2 separate regions of the Homo sapiens genome follow, and region 1 is linked to region 2. Evidence: promoter capture Hi-C in human tissues and cell types (Jung and others, 2019). All regions are on one chromosome and are shown on one strand. The core of a region is centred on a gene start or on the middle of the fragment in contact, and the rest is flanking DNA. Distances in the headings are between cores, read along the strand shown. Region 1 overlaps PPM1D (protein phosphatase, Mg2+/Mn2+ dependent 1D). Region 2 holds the start of CA4 (carbonic anhydrase 4).

Region 1 (3,432 bases), core at 885-3,384, 500 kb after region 2:
GATTGCAAAGGTAAATAGAATATGGTCCTTCCTCAGCACTTACCATATTATTATAAATAGAATATATAAAAAACTAACAATCCCATTAGATCATGAGTTCTTTTAAGGTGAGAGTCATCTTGATTCAGTTTTACATGTTCAGGGCCTGGTGTGTTGCATTTAGTTGGAGATTATCATGTATCAAAGAGTAACATAAAGACTCTTCTGTCTAATGGATTTAGAATTCTTTAATGATCTGAGAGAGATCATTTCAATGGCATAAAGACAAAAACCAGTTTGTAGTGCATTGGAAGAACCTATTTATGAACCATAAAGTGTTTTAAGATGAGTATTGAAGGAAGCATCCGTATAATGTATAATTAGAACAAGTCTTATGAGACCTGGAAGAGTGAGACGATAGAAAACTTCACAAGACTGCATAGGAAGCTTCATGGAAGAGAGTGATATTTGAGCAAGAAAATTTGCAGGCTTAATCTAAGGCAGCAGTGGTTTTTGGAAAAAACACAAAGAAATACATGTAGGCCGGGCGCAGTGGCTCAAGCCTGTAATCCCAGCACTTTGGGAGGCCAAGGCAGGTGGATCACTTGAGGTCAGGAGTTCGAGACCGGCCTGGCCAACATGGTGAAACCCCATCTCTACTAAAAATACAAAAATCAGCCAGACGTGGTGACTCGCACCTGTAATCCCAGTTACTCAGGAGGCTGATGCAGGAGAATTGCTTGAACCCAGGAGGCAGAGGTTGCAGTGAGCTGAGATCGTGCCACTGCACTCCAGCCTGGTGACAGAGCGAGACTCCATCTCAAAACAACAACAACAACAACAACAACAAAAAACACAAATACATAAGTAGTAGAATTGACAGCTCTTATGTTTATAAGGAGGAAGAATATGATGACACCTAAATTTCTAACTCTGGTGACTAGTAAGCTGTTATAAAGAAGAGACATTATTTAGGGAGAGATGGGGGAGGTAATTAGTTCAGACATAGGCATGTTGAGTTGAGGTACCTGTGGTTCATCTAGATAGATATCTTCAGTAGGCAGTTATAAATATTTGAGAGAGAGGGGTGGCATGCTCCTATAGTCCCAGCTACTCAGGAGGCTGTGGGAGGATTGCTTAACCCCAGGAGTTCAAGGCTGTAGGGCTCTATGATTGTACTTGTTAATAGCCACTGCACTCCAGCCTGGACAACATAGTGAGACCCTCATCTCTTTAAAAATAAAAACTTGGGAGGGAAGCGTGGAAATACTAATTTAACAGTTAACAAGAGTTGCGTAAATTGTGGCAATATATGCACTTAGAGAGACTCTGTGGTTTAAGAGCACACAATATTAGGGGGACTCAAGTCAGCAGAATTCTAGTGAGCTGAGGGAAAAATATACAGGTAAGATAGTGGAAAATGGTTTATATAATTGTTTTCATAGAGCATTGATGGGAAGGGAAACAGGCACACTGAAAAAGTGAGAGGTAAGGGCTCAGTCAGCTGGTGTTTGGAGAGTGGAACCACATGCCGTAGGGAATGTGATAGATTCATGAATTAGAGATTAATGCTGCCTTTAATCAATTCTGAGGTGCATATTTTCTTTTAATATCTCTGAAATTGGAATACTTTTTACAAATGGTATATCACAGTTCAATTAACAGTGTTTTTGGTTTTTTTTTTTTTTTGAGATGTAATCTCGCTGTGTTGCCAGGCTGGAGTGCAGTGGCGCGATCTCAGCTCACTGCAACCTCTGCCTCCCAGGTTCAAGCGATTCCCCTGCCTCAGCCTCCCGAGTAGCTGGGACTACAGGCGCGCGCCACCATGCCTGGCTAATTTTTTTTATTTTAGTAGAGACGGGGTTTCACCACATTGGCCAGGATGATCTCCATCTCCTGACCTCATGATCCACCCACCTCGGCCTCCCAAAGTGCTGGGATTACAGGTGTGAACCACCATGCCAAGCCACCACGCCCAGCCGACAGTGTTTTTTATTTCGTTTGTGGCACATAAAATGATGCATCCATAACACAAGGCTCATGGTATTCTACATGAAGAAAACAATCTAAGTGATCCAGTCAGAGTTACAAAAAAGAATATCATAGTAAAACCCCTCAAAGTAGGAGGTTGAAAATAATAGAGCAGAAATTAATTATTTAGGGAGATTCACAAAACCCAGAAGGGCAGTCTTTTAAGAAGACACATAAGGCATGATTGATTGTTTCTAGTTCAAGAGAAAAGCACAAAAAAGTTTGAGTGGACATAACTACACTTAAAAATAGAGATTTTTAAAACACACTTTAAAAAATTCGAAGTATACTATACATATGACATTTACTATTTGTACTATTTGAAATTGTACAATTCAATAGTAAAAAATCCATTTATATTCTTTTTTTCCACCCTTCATCTCTCTCTCCCTACTACCCTTCCTGGCTTCTTGTAACCACAATTCTACTCTCTCTCTTTGTGAGATCTACTCTTTTAGCTGCCACATATGAGTGAGATCATGTCTTTCTGTGCTTGGATTATTTCATTTAGCATAATGTCCTCCAGTTCCATCCCTGTTGCTGCAAATGACAAGATTTCATTCTTTTCTATGGCCGAATACTATTTCATTGTGTATGTGTATATACACCACATTTTCTTTATCCATTCATGTATTAAATGGAATTGACGTAGGATGATTCCATATTTGGACTGTTGTGAATAGTGCTGCAATAAACATGGGAGTGCAGATATACCTTCAGTGTATTGATTTTCTTTCTGTTGGATATATGTATAGTAGTGGAATTGTTGGATCATATGGTAGTTTACTTCTGTTTTTTTTTTTTTTTTTTTTTTTTTGAGGAACCTTCATACTGTTCTTCGTAGTGGCTGCTCTAATTTACATTCCCACTAACACTGAGGGTTCCCCTTTCTGCACATCCTCACCAGCATCTGTAGTTGCCTATCTTTTTGATGCAAGTGGTTTTAACTGGAGTGAGATGATACCTCATTGTGGTTTTGATTTGCATTTCTCTGATGATTAGTGATGTTGAGCATTTTTTCATATATCTGTTAATCATTTGTATGTCTTTTGAGAAATGTGTATTTTAGATCTTTTGCCCATTTTAAAATTGGATTATTTGGGGCTTGTTTTGTTTTGTTGCTACTGATTTGAGCTCCTTACATGTTGTTAATTCCTTGTCAGATGGATAGTTTGCAGATGTTTTATCCCATTCTGTGGGTTCTCTCTTCACTTTGTTGATTGTTTCCTTTGCATTTTAGCTTGTATTTTCATTTGTCTATTTTTGCTTTGGTTGCCAGTGCTTTTGAGGTCTCATGCAAAAATTATTTGCCCAGAACAGTGTCCTGGAGCGTTTCTCCAATGTTGTTTTCTTCTAGTAGTTTCATAGTTTGTGAGATCAAAGTAGATCTCACAGAGGGAATAGAATTGTGGTTACCAATTC
Region 2 (3,597 bases), core at 710-3,209:
GTGACAGGTGACTGGTTTATGGCAGGCCAGGACTGGGGTCAGGGCTGGAGATAAGGCTGAGAATGTTAAGACCAGGAACAGGAAGAGAGGGCCACTCACCCTGTGTAACCTTGAAGTTAGAGATGGCAGATGGAGCAGGAACCAGTCCACCACCCCATCGCCAATGTGCAGGCTCTGTGGTGCCCATAATTAAGATGCACCCATAAGAGAGTGTATAGCTTTACCCCTCCCGCATTCCTCAGAGGGGATGCCCTACCAGGGACTCGTTCTCCTCACCCATCTTTATGGTCCCAAAATGCACCCAGGGCCCCCCTCTCTCCTGGGGGGCCTGAATGCAATGAACTTTAAAGTGGATCATTGATCAACAGTCCCTTAACCCCACCAAAGTTTCCCAAGCCTCTCCCCTGCTCATCAGGGGGCTGGCCAGAGGTCACAGGGACTCCCTGGGGGTGGTTTTTATTCCCAGGAACAGGCTTCCTCAGTCCTGAAAGGGACATTTTTATAGCCCTGTGAACACAAATGCACTCCCCAGAATAGGCTCTGGGTGTGGAATCCCTCCTGTGGCTGTCATGGTCGCAGGCTGGTGATTACATTATACAGTGGTGTTGACAATAGAGCCCTAAGCCTGGCATGGACACCCCCTCACCTCCCTCCTGCCTCTCTGTAGGATCAAAGCTGCTCTGTGAGGCTGTGTGATCCTGGGCCAGGAGCGGGGAGTCAGCCTCAACCCTAAGCAAGGAGGAAGCATCTTTGCCTGAATCCTTCTGGGGGAGGCAATCCCCCTTCAGAAGTCCCTAGCCCAGGTTCGAAGGTCGGTAGGGACTGAGAGGTTGGCAGCGGATGGGGAGTGGCTAAACCAGAAAAAGGGGGCTTCCTGTTGATGGATTGATGGAGGAGGTCCAGGTCCACTGCCTGGTTCCCCGTCCCTCTCCCGCACCCCAGCCTGAGCTTCCCAAACTCCCACAGAAGCCCCCACCCCATGTGGGACACAGAGGACCTGCAGTAGCAGGAGGGCACAGCTAAGAGAGGAGACAAGAGGCAGCTTGGGGGCATGGGGGGGACCCCATTTCCCCAAATGTTGGAGCCGCCCTTAAGGGAACTTCCCCTGGACTCCTCTGGAGGTCTTGCCAGATGGGAGAACCAGGGGTCCATTCAGACCCCAGTCTCTTCTCTTCCCATCTCATCTCTCCACCTGGGGGGCTCAAAGAACCTAGCTCCTCCCCTTTGACCCCATCAGCTTCTCCCTCACCGAATCCTCTTACAATCCATTTCTTAATTCTGCCCCATCAACCCTCCCTGGTCATCACATAAACACCAGCAAGGGCAGTAGTTTAGGGACAGCTTTGCTCTGTATTCGAAGAAAGGTCTTTGGTCTGCTTAGAAATTAAGTTTGGAGCAGCCTGGGAGGAAATAGAAGAGATGAGACCCAGAGAATCAATGGCCACTGCCAAAGAGAGATAGGAGAGCCTTTCTGCGGCCACTGATTCAACAAACGGCATCACACGCCCCTCAGCCTCTCATCTCTTCGAGGCCATCTCCACCCCCACCCCCACCCCCACCCCAAGGCCATTCCAAGGTCCCATTCAAGACCACTGCGCAGGGGTGGCGCCAGAATGATCAAAGTCATCATGGGGCACTCATCTTTGTGTGGGTCAAGCACTTTGTGGTGTCGTGTCCCTGTTCCCAAACCAGGGACCAGGAGTAGGATGGGGGAGGGGCAGGGCGCCGCTGCTGAGTGGAGAGGACGCGGAGTGGGTGAGGGGGCCTTGCGCACAGGGCAAGAGGTGGCCAGGCAGGGCGGGGGACCGGGGAGAGCGGAGGATTTCAGATGAGGGACAGGGGAAGGTGGAGAGGGGAGGGCAGGCCCCGCCAGGGGGAGGAGCCGCCTCCCGCGTCCAGCTGTCGGGGCTCCCTCCCGTCGCGGCTCCGCTATAAAACCCAGGCCGGCAGGATCGCTGCACCCGCGGCGGCCTCCTCGGTGCGCGACCCCCGGCTCAGAGGACTCTTTGCTGTCCCGCAAGATGCGGATGCTGCTGGCGCTCCTGGCCCTCTCCGCGGCGCGGCCATCGGCCAGTGCAGGTGAGCTCCCGGGCTCCGGCCCCAGGTGCCCCTCGGCGGTCCCCTCCGTGCCCCCAGCTCCCGCCCCTGCAGAGGATCCCCCCGCGGGCGACCGGTGAGCGTCGGTGGCGCTGGGGTCCCGGGTTGCGTGTGCGCCGGGGGCCGCGAGGGTGCGGGAGGACTGGGCAGCGCGCGAGCTTGTGTGTGCACACGCGTGTCAGCACCGGCTGGGGGAGCGTGTGCACGGGTGTGCGCGGTGAGGGTGTGTGCGCGTGGCCCGGCGAGACGAGTTGGGAGTCCCTGATAAGGATGCGTCTCAGGCCGGGCGCGGGTGCTCCAGCCTGAAATGCCAGCACGTTGGGAGGCAGAGGCGGGTGGATCACCTGAGCCCAGGAGTTCGAGACCAGCATGGCCAACATGGTGAAATCCCATCTCTACCAAAAATACAAACATTAGCCGGACGTGGTGGCACACGCCTGTAATCCCAGCTACTCGGGAGGCTGAGGCCCGAGAATCGCTTGAACCCAGGAGGTGGAGGTTGCAGTGAGATCACGCCACTGCACTCCAGCCTGGTGCTCCGTTTAAAAAAAAAAAAAAAAAAAAAAAAAAAAAAAAAAAAGGATGCTTCTCGGACCCGCCTCAACGCACGCCTTCTTTTCTCACCCAGCCTCCTCCGTCTGCCCGTGGGTTTCCGTCCGTCCCGCTGGGACTCAGCGCTGGGTGACTGCCCCGCGGCCAGAGCAAGGGCGGTCTGGCAGGGTCCTGGAAGCCGCGCTTCCCACACGGGTTCCTTGCCCCTGAGGGTCGCAAGCTCCCCTGGCCTCCCTAACCTCCAGCGCTGAATTGGGAGCCTGGCGGGGGCGGGGGGTGGGGGACCCGGAGCCCCAAGGCCTCTGCGGAGCCGGTCTTTCCGGACAGGGTGATTTTCGTTTAAAGATTAATGGTGAAGCCGAGCTCTTAATTATTCCTCTAGGTGGGAGGTGGCAGGAAAGGCATGTTAATATTTGATAAGAAGCTAAAGGCGCTTCAAGCGGCTGGGCACAGGGATCCGATCCTGGAGGCACCTTCTTTGCAACCCCAGACCCCATCACCGGAAGACCCCCTCTGCCAGTTCTCAGCCCAACCACCCCTCGGATGGTTCTTGGGGTCCACGCAGGCTGAAACCTCCTCTCCCAAGTTAGGTGCTCCATCCTCAAAGCGGCGGAGTGAGGGGTGAAGGTGTCCTCTGCACAGAGAGGAGCCAGCGTGTGCCCTTTGCAGCAGGGACTGGCTGAGCTGTCTTAGAGGGTCGAGGGGCACCTTGCAGCCTCTCCACCGGGCCCCTGGGAGAAGAAAGAGAAAAAGCAGAATGTGGAAACTTTTATTTGTAGGGTTGGACATTGGAAACCTACTAAGCAGCTAGAAAGTAGAAAGAGAAATGCTTTGCAGTTCTGGTGCTTTGTAGCTGTGTGGTCTTGGGTAAGTCACTTCCTGTCCCATTTGCAAAACAGGTGTTGTCATTCTGACTTCAGGGGTTTTAAGCGTTTGAATAAGATAATG

What was found. Contacts are between HindIII fragments. The study calls those that stand out against the background at their distance.
Region 1: a fragment that was not itself captured here is called in contact with the fragment with the promoter of CA4 in region 2 in 1 of the 25 tissues and cell types used here (lymphoblastoid cells).

The regions. Positions count from the first base shown.
Region 1 is chr17:60,649,749-60,653,180 of GRCh38, forward strand. All of the region lies in intron 4 of PPM1D (protein phosphatase, Mg2+/Mn2+ dependent 1D), which reads left to right. Among named protein-coding and RNA genes, the nearest start is that of BCAS3, 26 kb to the right of the region's middle. RefSeq lists a silencer at 2,804-2,853. The HindIII fragment of the contact is 7,187 bases long and covers 1-3,432 here.
Region 2 is chr17:60,148,014-60,151,610 of GRCh38, forward strand. It overlaps CA4 (carbonic anhydrase 4), which reads left to right and starts at 1,960. Exons shown (of 8, transcript NM_000717.5): 1 at 1,960-2,079. The coding sequence starts at 2,022. The HindIII fragment of the contact is 35,208 bases long and covers 1-3,597 here.